Regions from separate parts of the Homo sapiens genome. Here regions 1 and 2 are each linked to region 3. Evidence: promoter capture Hi-C in 16 types of primary human blood cells and fetal thymus (Javierre and others, 2016). All regions are on one chromosome and are shown on one strand. Each heading gives the region's core, a stretch centred on a gene start or on the middle of the fragment in contact. The rest is flanking DNA. Distances are from core to core; before and after follow the strand shown. Region 1 overlaps EMC1 (ER membrane protein complex subunit 1). Region 2 has its middle 12 kb from the start of MRTO4. Region 3 holds the start of MICOS10-DT (MICOS10 divergent transcript).

Region 1 (3,952 bases), core at 1,453-3,952, 360 kb before region 3:
ATTGCACTCCAGCCTGGGCGACACAGCGAGACTCCGTCTTGAAATAAAATAAAATAAAATAAAAATAAATAAATATCAAAAAATTAGCCAAGCATGGTGGCGAGCGCCTGTAGTCACAGCTACTTAGGAGGCTGAGATAGGAAGATCACTTGAGCCCGGGAGATTGAGGCTGCAGTGAGCTATGATCACGCCACTGTACTCCAGACTGGGCAACAGTGAGACCTTGTCTCAAAAAATAAATAAATAAATAAACAAAAGCTAAGCCTGTCTCCCAGATTTTCTAGAGAGACTCTTCTCGCTGACTCAGGGATTACTACAAGCTCTTGCATAAAAGGAGAAATGGCAGAGCAAGGGGCTGGAATCAATAGGTCAAAGGAGGAAAGTTCTGTATCCCACCGAGAATGCCAAGTTATTCTTCAAAAGCAGGTAACGGGGCCGGGCATAGTGGCTCATGCCTGTAATCCCAGCACTTTGGGAGGCCAAGGCGGGCAGATCACCTGAGGTTAGGAGCTTGAGACCAGCCTGGGCCAACATGGTGAAACCCTGTCTCTTACTAAAAATACAAAATTAGCGCCTATAATCCCAGCTACTCAGGAGGCTGAGGCAGGAGAATCGCTTGAACCAGGAGGCAGAAGTTGCAAAGAGCTGAGATTACACCATTCCACTCCAGCCTGGGCAACAAGAGCAAAACTCTGTCTCAAAAAAGAAAAAAAGAGCCAGGCACGGTGGCTCACACCTGTAATCCCAGCACTTTGGGAGGCCGAGGCAGGTGGATCACCTGAGGTCAGGAGTTTGAGACCAGCCTGACAAACATGGTGAAACCCCATCTCTACTAAAAATACAAAATTAGCCAGGCGTGGTGGTGCATGCCTGTAATCCCAGCTACTTGGGAGGCTGAGGCAGGAGAATCACTTAAACCTGGGAGGCAGAGGTTGCAGTGAGCTGAGATCATGCCACTGTACTCCAGCAGTCTGAGCAACAAGAGCAAAACTCCGTCTCAAAAAAAAAAAAAAAAGCAGGTGACAGGCCAGGCACGGTGGCTCACACCTGTAATCCCAGCACTTTGGGAGGCCGAGGCAGGCGGATCACTTGAGGTCAGGAATTCGAGACCAGCCTGGCCAACATGGGGAAACCCTGTCTCTACTGAAAATACAAAAATTAGCTGGTCGTGGTGGCACACGCCTGTAATCCCAGCTACTCAGGAGGCTGAGGCAGGAGAATCGCTTGAATCCGAAAGGTGGAGATTGCAGTGGGCCGAGATCATGCCACTGCACTCCAGCCTGGGCAAGAGAGCAAGACTCTATCTCAAAAAAAAAAAAAAAAAAAAAAAAGCAGGTGACATTTGGCTATGAACGAAACACTCAGGGCACACTCCACTTGAATCTCTTCCAGAAACCTGCAGCCTCCCAAAAAACAGTCTGATTGGAACACATTGGAAGGCCTGGGGAAATAAAAAAATGGGTTGAATGAGGTCTACTTACCCAACTGCTGCAGGAAAAGTAGCAGATGATCCTCTGTCTGCACCAAAGCCCGGTAGCCCACTGAGTCATCCTTCTTCAAGAACACCTGGATATACAGCTATAAGCCACAGTCAAGACCGGTGTAGTCAGTGAGGATCCAAATGCCTCTGAGAGCACCAGACCCCAGGAGTCAAAGCCTGGACTTAACAGAGGTACAGGCCATGGCATTATTTGATGTCTAAACAATGTAGCTATTATCTGGATGCCAGTAAGTGATACATATTCTTAGGAGCCAACATAATGATGCTGGGGTCTCCCAGACCTTTCCATGGAAGAACCTGAGTACTCCACGGGTACCACGCCATTCATCCATGCTCTAATCACACCCCACAAAGTGAGCAGGAGGCCGGGATTAGACTTTCCGCTTTAGAAACGAAGAAGCCACAGCCCAAGCAGCTGAGGAACACAACCAGATGCACACAGAGGCAATACTGGGTAGTGATGAGGAGTCCAGGCTGTGGGGTTAGACCTGAATCTGAACCGCAGTGACACCTCTTACTGGCTCCGTGACTCTGGCTATGGTACTCGATCCCACCAGGCCACAGAATCATTTTAAAACCAGGTCAGGAACAACCGCTTCATGAGAGTGTTTGGAGGGTTAAATCAATTAATGTGTAAGTTAAAAGCTTAGAACAGTCCCTGGTGCACAATGATGAGCTGGCATAAATAATACCCGCCTTTACTGTGACTTCTAACAAGTCAGTGGCTCAGAGAGCACTAGAACACATGTTTAGAGAGCCTAATCCAAGCCCCATGGCTAAGACCTGGCCCTGAGGAAAGGAAGCCATGTGCTGAGAAGCCCACAGGACAGTCTGCAAAGAAAGGCTCTGCCTTACCCGCTCAGGCCGAGTGCCGCTCTGTTCCAGGCTAAATGTTATCGTGGTGTCCAGCAGCCGCCGACCTGTCTCCACGAGGTATAGGTTAATGGTGTAGGTCTGATTGAAGCAAGCCAGAGAGTCCTAGGAGTACAGACAGCACGTGTCAACTACAGGTATCCCCCGAAAGCAAAGCCCACCAAAGGAAGTCCAAGGATTGGGGGCAAATACCCTAGAGAAGGAGCCAGGCCAGAAGGGGAAATATATGCAAAGGAGAATAAAAGAGAAAAGCAAGCTAAATCCTAAGGCAGAAATAAGGTGCCTGAGTAAATAAATGAAATTACAACTACCATACTTGTCTTGGAAGCCAGTACAGAGTAGCAGAGACTTCTGAGAGAGAGGTAGGGCTGAGCAAGGTAAGACTGAGCAAGACAGGAGGCAGGGAAACGCTTAGATGGAAGCCACAGCAGGAACCTATGCCTCCAGCCAGGGGCTCATGCCTCTGCTACAGGGTAACTGCACAGAGTACTACTCAACTGTGCCAGCCAGGATCCCAAAAGAAATGGGGACGCTGAGGCCCAGAGGAGAAAGTGGCTAGAAACAGACTCTAGGGATTCTACCTCCTAATCTCCCGGTAAAATGAGATTAAGAGAAACATCATTTAATTTACAGTACTTAGGAAACCTCATTTGAAGCTGGGAACTCTAGGACCTGCTCCTAACCAAAGCTCTTCCCCCAACTCTCTTTGGTGGCCTCCTGCGTCTCTAGGTCTGGCATACTGCCCAGTGCCACACCATACCTTTGAACTAGACTTCTCCGAAAAGCTCCCCATTGACCCATCTTCAGAACTGCTACTTTTCTGCTATGAGAAAGAGAAGGACAGGAGAAAATTCAGCCAAAGGGTCACTTCCCAGTCACTGAAATGAAGCTTTTGTTTTTGTCTTCTTAGCACTTGAGAGAAGACAAAGCTCATTTCTCACCCCTGCCCACAAAGCCTATTCAACCCTTAATAGCCCCATATGAAAGTAAGGTCATCACATTAGGGTCTCGTTCCTGGGGAGAAATGGGGTGTGCAGAAAGCTCTATAGTTGAGGCAAGACCTCACTTCTCAACAGCCTCCTGCCCGCTGGGTTCAAACTGACCAGGTCAATGTGCCCAGACTTCTGATTTTCAGGGTTCCTAGTGGAGACCAGGAAGGAAAATCCCAAGTGCTGACTGTTGTTCTCAATACTCACCACTTCATTCCGACAGGCCATGACTGCAGCCACCGTCTTCTCCCCAGTGGTGGCAAAGCTCACTAGGGCAGTCTGGGGGAAAAGCAAGGCATCAGCTCCTAAATGGGACCAGTACTAGCCAGCTGCCTTACAGAGGGTCACCTCTCCAGGGAAGGCCCTTGGCCTTAGAGTTGAAAGTGCTCCCCACTTTGGAGCAGAATGGTCAGGCATTTAAGAGCAGAGGGAGGCCTCAGTTGCATCTACAGCTGAAAACAGAACTCTCCCTACCTCCAACGCAGGCACAGGTCAATCTTAAATCCCATGCTGCTTGTTCTTACTATCTATGGGGAAGCTCTCATTTATGTCCCCATATTTCCTTTGGACTAAGGAAGGCACTAGTTTT
Region 2 (3,615 bases), core at 464-2,963, 330 kb before region 3:
ACCATGTGTAGCTGTGGGACCCTACACAAGTGAAATTGCCTCTGAGCCAGTTGCCTCATGTAAAACTGAGATGACCATACTTAACATGGCCATCGCAATAACTAGTGTTGGTTACCTGGCCGCTTAAGTAATTTGTGTAAGAACAGGTTTACCCCACCCAAAAGAACTGGGCCATGGAGAGCCTTCATAGGAAGAAAAGGACTTAACTCCTCTTGGTCAAAGTGACCAAATGACTGCATAGCCCTCGCAGCTTCCCCAGTCTCCCCACCCCCACAGAATTTGAGAGAAGCAGCTGAGCATCTAGAGACAGCTGGGTTACCTGCAGCTTGCGAGTGGTCCATCGCAGGACAGTCAAGGCCATGCCAGGGGCACTGGTGCTATATACACAATCTGCAGGACCTGCTCCACCAGGGCCATGGCCTTGAAGTGGTGCTTGTTCCAGAAGCTGGGTTGGGGGAGGGTATTGCACGGGGGTCAGTACTAGGGGTCATCTCAGGGCGGTTGCCTGCACCCAGGTCCCTGAAGCACTGAGGGGCTAATGGCTTCTAAGTAGACATCTTACATTTTTGAGCATCAGAATGCATGCATGTTTCTGGGCCCCTCATCCGTGTTCTTGGGTGGCTAGAGGGGAGGCAGTGGGCGAGAATCCTTGCATTTGGCCAGGCGTGATGGCCACACCTGTAATCCAAGCCCTTTGGGAGGCCAAGAAGGGAGGATTGCTTGATGCCGGAAGTTAGAAGTCAGCCAAGATAACGTAGGGAGACCTCCTGTCTCTACAAAAAAAAAAAAAAAAAATTAGCCGGGCGTAGTGATGTGCGCCTCTAGTCTCAGCTGCTCTGGAGGCTGAAGCAGGAAGATCACTTGAGTCTGGGAGGTAGAGGCTACAGGGAGTGGTGATCGAGCCCCTGCACTCCATCCTGAACAACAGAGTGAGACCCCATTTCGAAGAAAAAACCCTAGCATTTAACCTCACCAGGTGTTAAACACCCGCCACCTTAGGACCCCTCAGCACCTACAGCACCACACCTGTGTGCCCTGGGGGACACAAGGACCCATGACAAGTCCTGATCTCCAATCCTGGCTCTGCGGCCTTGGCTGAGCCACCTGCCCTCACCTGCTCAGTGAGGAAGGGAAATGCCCCATGCCAGCCCCATGTGCTAAATGCCAAGTATAAAGGTAGTAAGGGGCCTGGCCAGCTTTGCACACTGTAAAGAACAGATGGGATGAAACCCAGCAGGTCTCGATGCTCCAGGGCTGTAGCCTGGGCCCTGCAGTGTGAAAAGCTTGAGAAAACCTCCGCTTAGGACGGTGGTTCCTGAACATGGCAAGGATTATTAGAAACCCTTGGGGTTTCTGATCATCCTTATCATCCAAATAAGGCTGTAAATCACAGCAGTGCACACAAGGTGAACCCAAATGTTGGACACTGCTGCCTAAGTCCTTGGCCATTTCAACAAAACTAGCACTGGCACCACTTCCATGGAGCTTGGCTTGTTTCTGCCTTCCTCCCAGGGGGAGAAAACAAAAAGAAGTAATAAATCACATTGTGCACAAATATTAACCTTGCAGGTGTGGATTTGGTAAATCTAAGATCAGGAACTTTCCAGCAGCCCACACACGACATCTAAATTTGATATATTAAGGAATAGCGATAAAGTGTGTAGCTTTTTTTTTAATAAGAGATGGTGGTCTTGCTTTAATATCCAGGCCAAACTCCTAAGCTCAAGCAATCCTCCTATCTTGGCCTCCTAAGGCTGGAACTACAGGCCTATGACACCATGCCTGGCTAGTTTTTAAAATTTTTTTGTAGAGACAGTCTCACTGACCTGCCCAGGCTGGTCTCAAACTCCTGGGCTCAAGCGATTCACCTTTGTCTCCCAAAGTGTTGGGATTATAGGTGTGAACCACCACCCCCAGCCAAGTGTATACTTTAGACATAGTGCAGCAGTAACTGCTAGAGAAAAAGAAAGCTGCAAGAATTTCTAGAAGTTGCCTCTGAGGAATGAGACTTGGAAAGTGACAGCTTTTAACCATGGGCACATATCACTTTAATAAATTGTCCAAATTTTAAGAAATAGACTGGGTGTGGTGGCTTCCAGCTTGTATATATAAACTGTCTTCCATCCAACTCTTGGAATCAGAGTAAAGCTTTTGGAAATCCATTTTGTGAGAGAGAAAGCATCTAACTGTTGTGAATGCTATTTCAAATTCAGTTAATAAAGCTCAACATTGAGAATAGAAATTTGTTTCTGCAGTGGACATACACTTACAAATGCCATGGTAAGGACGGTGGCTCACGCCTGCAATCCCAGCACTTTGGGAGGCCGAGGCGGGTGGATCACGAGGTCAGGAGTTCAAGACCAGGCTGGCCAAGATGGTGAAACCCCGTCTCTACTAAAAATATAAAAAATGAGCCAGGTGTGGTGGCAGGCGCCTGTAGTCCCAGCTACTCGGGAGGCTGAGGCAGAGAATTGCTTGAACCCGGGAGGCAGAGGTTGCAGTGAGCCAAGATTGCACCACTGCACTCCAGCCTGGGCAACAGAGCTAGACTCCATCTCAAAAAAAAAAAAAAAAAAAAAAGCCATGGTAAAAACAGCCTTATTAAATTAAAAATCCATGCAGCAGAAATGTACTTGTTCATAAACAATTGTGGAGCCTGGCACTCTTACCTTCCTGTTGCTTCTGAAATGTATTCAGAATGGCCCAATTTGAGACACTGGTGATGCCAACCAACCCAGTCACTGGGAACAAGCAGGTCAGAAATGAAGCAAGTAGGGCAGCCCATGGCAGCCTGAAGTTTCAGGAACTCCCCTCCTCATGAATTCCCATGTGCAAAATCTATGTCACCTCCTTCTCCAGTCTTTTTTTTTTTTTTTTTTCTTTTTTGAGATGGAGTCTTGCTCTGTCGCCCAGGCTGGAGTGCAGTGGCATGATCTCAGCTCACTGCAAGCTCCACCTCCCGGATTTACGCCATCCTCCCGCGTCAGCCTCCCGGGTAGCTGGAACTACAGGCGCCCACCACCATGCCCGGCTAATTTTTTGTATTTTTAGTAGAGACGGGGTTTCACCATGTTAACTAGGATGGTCTTGATCTCCTGACCCCATAATCCGCCCGCCTCGGCCTCCCAAAGTGCTGGGATTACAGGCGTGAGCCACTGCGCCTGGCCCTTCTCCAGTCTTTTATACAGCACAGAGCAGTTTCCTTAGTTTGAGGATGAATAAATATATATTAGACGCTCTCCAGATCCAGCTCTGCTCCTTTAGGTCTTTTTGTTCCTTCTCATTTGTTTTTAAATTAACAAATACGAATTGTATATATATTTAAGGTGCTGTTTGGGAACTGTCTCTTGAAGAAGCTCTTTAGATATAAAATGGCTGAGGGAGGAGGTGGAGTGGGAAAAAAAGAAGAGAAAAAAGATATGAAATGGCTGAATTCAAGTGGACATCAACTATCTTTGAGATATAGTATCCAGAAGATTCTAATAGGTGGGATGTGGCATAGCAGAGAATGCATCCCTGATGGGGATACTCAAGAGTCTCAGCAGCTCCTGGGGCTCATCTCGACTTGACCACTCAGGACCGTTGCTCCCAGTGTTACAGTTTATTTTCCTAAGA
Region 3 (4,092 bases), core at 1,393-3,892:
AATTAGAAGGGGCTGGGCATGGTGGTTCAGGCCTATAATCCTAGTACTTTGGGAGGACAAAGTGGGAGGATGGCTTGAGCCCAGGAGTTCGAGACCAGCCTGGGCAGCATAGCAAAACCTCACCTCTATAAAAAAGGAAAAGCAAAGAAAAATTTAAAGAATAGGAAAAATAGGGCTGGGCATGATGGCTCAAGCCTGTAATCCCAGCACTTTGGGAGGCTGAGGTGGGTGGTTCACCTGAGGTCAGGAGTTCAAGACCAGCTTGGCCAACATGGTGAAACCCCATCTCTACTAAAAATACAAAAATTAGCTGGGGGTGGTGGCACGTGCTTGTAATCCCAACTACTCAGGTGGCTGAGACAGGAGAATCTCTTGAACCTGGGAGGCAGAGGTTGCAGTGAGCCAAGATCATGCCACTGCACTCCAGCCTGGGTGACAGAGCAAGACTCTGTCTCAAAAAAAAAAAAAAAAAGAAAGAATAATTTAAAAAAATAGAGAACTAGGAGAAGGGAAGGGTGGTCATAGAAGTTATCTTGAAGGAAGAGGCTGTCGTAGCAAGATCTGATACAACAGAGTTTTGCTGTCATAGTTGCAAATAAATAGTTGAACGATGCCTGTAATCCCAGCACTTTGGGAGGCCAAGGTGGGTGGATCACTTGAGGCCAGGAGTCAAGACCAGCCTGGCCAATATGGCGAAACCCCATCTCTACTAAAAAAATACAAAAAGTTAGCCAGGCGTGGTGGTGGGCGCCTGTAATCCCAGCTATTTTGGAGGCTGAGGCAGAAGAATTGCTCAAACCCAGTAGGCAGAGGTTGCAGTGAGCCGAGATCGTGCCACTGCACTCCAGCCTGGGCAACAGAGCGCGACTCTCTCTCAATAAATAAATAAACAAATAAATAGGTGAATAAATTCAATTCAGTTCAACAAATATTTCATAGAAGACCCTACTATCCAAGGCATTGTGCTCTGACTGGAAGTATGAAGACGAAGGGGCAACTTCTAGTTCTACTAGCAGATAATATCTACAACCAGATGTTTCAGTACTAGATAGAGAAATCAATGCGGGTAGGCAGGGTAGTGGGACAATGAGAAGGGGAAGGCAGCTCTAAGCTCTATCTGACTAGGCTTCCTAGAATCAGTGCAGTGTTGAAGCTTGGATAGATCCAGTGTATGAATGGGAGTCATTGACAGCTTTTTTTTTTTTTCTTTTGTGATAGGGTATCACTCTGATGCCCAGGCTGGAGTGCAGTGGCATGAACATGGCTCAGTGTAGCCTCCACTTCCCAGGCTCAAGTGATCCTCCTACCTCAGCCTCCTAAGTAGCTGGGACTAAAGGCACACATCACATTAGCCTGGCTAATTTTTTAAATTTTTTGTAGAGACAGGAGTCTCACTATGCTGCCTAGGCTGGTCTTGAACTACTGGCCTCAAACAATCCTCCCGCCTCAGCCTCCCAGAGTGTTGGGATTACAGGTGTGAGCCACTGCTCTCGGCCTTCATTGACAGCTTCTAATCAGAGGCATAACGTGGTCAGATTTCTATTTGTTGGTAGGATGGAAGACTAAAATCAATGACACTAGCCAGTAGGCTGGATATACAATCTCTCTTGATAGCTGTGGGCATTTGGTTTCAGGATCTCGCAGTTACCAAAATGCAGGATGCTCAAGTCCCATATATAAAATGGCGTGGTATTTGCATACAACCTACACACATGCTTACATATCCTTTTTTAAAATTACTTATTTTTTTTTAAAGAGATGAAGTCGAACTCCTAGTCTCAAGCAATCCTCCCATCTCAGCCTCCCAAGTAGCTGGGACTACGGTCGCATGCCACTGCGCTGGCTCCCATATACTTTAAATCATCTCTAGGTTACTTATAATACCTAATACAATGTAAATCCTAGGTAAATAGTTGTACTGTATTTTAAATTTTGCATTATTTTTTATTTGATTCAAAAATGTTTCTGGTCCATGGTTGGTTAAATCCATGGATGCAAAACCCACAGATACAGAGGGCACCCTGTGTATGTATGTGTATGTGTGTGTGTGTGTGGGTGGGTGTGTAAATATATACATGGATAGGAGGCCTGAGGTAGACGTTTTACCTGGAGATATAATTTGGCAGTGTTTGCAATTACTCAGGGAGAGTCTGTACAGTGAAAAGAGAATTGATGGAAGCTTGCGAACCAACAGTCCTTAAACAGCTGGCAGAGAAAAGGCAGCCCTGGAGGAAACCAACAGACAACAGCAGATGGGGAGAAGAGGAAAGAGTGGCGTTACCGGGAGTGAAACGAATAGAGGAGCCAGGGAGGATCAGAGGGAGGGAAAATTGTGTGGAATGCGGTACAGAGGTCAGAAAAGAGTCCATTTGATTTGGCGGTAGGTAATCTTTCCCAGAGCAGTTTCGGTGTTAGTGGTTCAGGCGGGAATTCCAATGCAAGAAACCAGTGAACGAATGAGAGAGTGAGTAGGGAAAGTGAAGGTGAGTACGTTAATGAATGAATAAATCAAGTCTGTACCCTCTCTTGCCCGGGGGATTTCCAGGGCCAATGTCGCACTTTGGTGAGGAGGAAAGGCCTGGTCACGGCTTGGGGTGACGCCTAGGAAACTGTCAGCCTCGCAAACCCATAGGCGCAGCCCCAAGGTCAGGGTCACCTCGAGCCTCCAGACAACTCGTCACCTTGACGACCAACTGAAAAAACCGGAAGGGATGGAAGCAGCGGATCATCTCGCGATATCTGGAGCGTCTGCGCCTGCCTTCCTGACCTGGGACTTGTTTCCAGCTCTCGCGAGACTTTCAGGGGTCGGAGCGCGGGGGCCGGCCGAGAGGAAAGCTGGAGGCGCGGGTGGGGAACATGTCTGAGTCGGAGCTCGGCAGGAAGTGGGACCGGTGTCTGGCGGATGCGGTCGTGAAGATAGGTAAGGGGCTTTTCGCCCCAGCAGGCCCGGCCGGTGCAGAGCTGCTGGCTCCAGGCTGCGCTGCCCAGGAGGAAGGAAGGGAAGCCCCACGGGAGGTCAGGCCTCTCGGCCTTTTCCGGCCCCTCCGGCCAGGGCGAGCCGCCCGGGCCCCGGCGGGAGGTCACTCGGGCGGCGGGCACAGACCCGAGGAGCCGGAGCAGCAGCCCGGGTGCGGGGTGGAGTTGCAGCCCGGAGGAGGTGGTCGGGGTTGGCAGGTGGCAGGAGAGTCGCAGAGCTCTTGAGTGGAAGACAGTGTCGGGGCACACCCTCGTGCCGGAGCCGCGGGGTTCTCCTCCCGGGTGGTGCATTCCCCGGCACGCGGCGGGGAACCGGCTCAGGAGGCCACGCTGCTCCCCGGCGGAAACCAAAGTGCCTTCTGGAGAAGGTCACCTGGAGCATTTCATAGACACCGCCAGGCCCTGATGCGAGTTGCTGTCATTCCCGACTTGCCACCTGATTTATTTGAATCAGAGTAGTCTGGGGCCTGAACTTAGAGGGGTGATGATCTGGAATGAGAATTGCGCTGGAAAGTAAGAAGTTGTTCACGTTAAGTTTTTCTGCGTAGTCCTTTAACACGTGCTCAGTGACGGCACAAATTATGAAGTCACTGTATGGTGGGGAGGAGAAAGGAAACTCGTTTATTGAGCGTATATTGTCTTCATTGTGCGAAATAATCTTTTTACAGGCCGTGAAATGGAGAGTCAGGTGAAGGAATTTGCCCACGGTCACAGCTAACAAATGGCAAAATTAGGGATTTTACCCAGCTTTTCTGGGGTCAAGTCCCATGTTCCTTCTTCGATGCTAATTTTTGTTACCCAAATGTGATATTTTTGTGTGGTAATCTTAGGGTATTTAAGAGGATTTAGGATTGTGTCTTTGAATGAAAACATTGAGGAATAAGATTGTAAGCTCCATGAGAGCAGGGATGTTTTCTGGTTTAGTCACTGCCCCATCCCCAGCCCCTAAAAGAGTGCTTAATAAAAATTGTTGAGAGTGAGTCAATAAATGAAACAGTTTATAAGTTACCATTTCACCTCTGAATTCAGCACTTACAGTCAAGTGATTTGGGGCAAGTTATTTAACTTTTCTGTGCCTGATTCCTATTTGGAAATCGGCAGTAATAATTATTACTA

Evidence for each region. Contacts are between HindIII fragments. The CHiCAGO score rates a contact against its expected background, and 5 or more counts as called.
Region 1: a fragment that was not itself captured here is called in contact with the fragment with the promoter of MICOS10-DT in region 3 in 2 of 17 cell types (naive CD8 T cells and naive B cells); the score reaches 6.2 in naive CD8 T cells.
Region 2: a contact is called between a fragment that was not itself captured here and the fragment with the promoter of MICOS10-DT in region 3, in 1 of 17 cell types (naive B cells). The highest score is 5.5, in naive B cells.

Annotation. Positions count from the first base shown.
Region 1 is chr1:19,235,661-19,239,612 of GRCh38, forward strand. It overlaps EMC1 (ER membrane protein complex subunit 1), which reads right to left. Exons shown (of 23, transcript NM_015047.3): 9 at 3,571-3,642; 10 at 3,135-3,197; 11 at 2,357-2,479; 12 at 1,482-1,578. All of the region lies in intron 1 of EMC1-AS1 (EMC1 antisense RNA 1), which reads left to right. Among named protein-coding and RNA genes, the nearest start is that of EMC1, 14 kb to the right of the region's middle. RefSeq lists a silencer at 49-219. The HindIII fragment of the contact is 1,117 bases long and covers 2,145-3,261 here.
Region 2 is chr1:19,261,863-19,265,477 of GRCh38, forward strand. No RefSeq gene overlaps it. Among named protein-coding and RNA genes, the nearest start is that of MRTO4, 12 kb to the left of the region's middle. The HindIII fragment of the contact is 865 bases long and covers 1,282-2,146 here.
Region 3 is chr1:19,594,190-19,598,281 of GRCh38, forward strand. MICOS10-DT (MICOS10 divergent transcript) reads right to left here and starts at 2,643. Exons shown (of 2, transcript NR_135054.1): 1 at 2,521-2,643. MICOS10-NBL1 (MICOS10-NBL1 readthrough) reads left to right here and starts at 2,790. Exons shown (of 4, transcript NM_001204089.2): 1 at 2,790-2,920. MICOS10 (mitochondrial contact site and cristae organizing system subunit 10) reads left to right here and starts at 2,790. Exons shown (of 4, transcript NM_001032363.4): 1 at 2,790-2,920. The coding sequence starts at 2,857. RefSeq lists an enhancer at 2,583-2,882 and a silencer at 3,003-3,212. The HindIII fragment of the contact is 2,967 bases long and covers 2,178-4,092 here.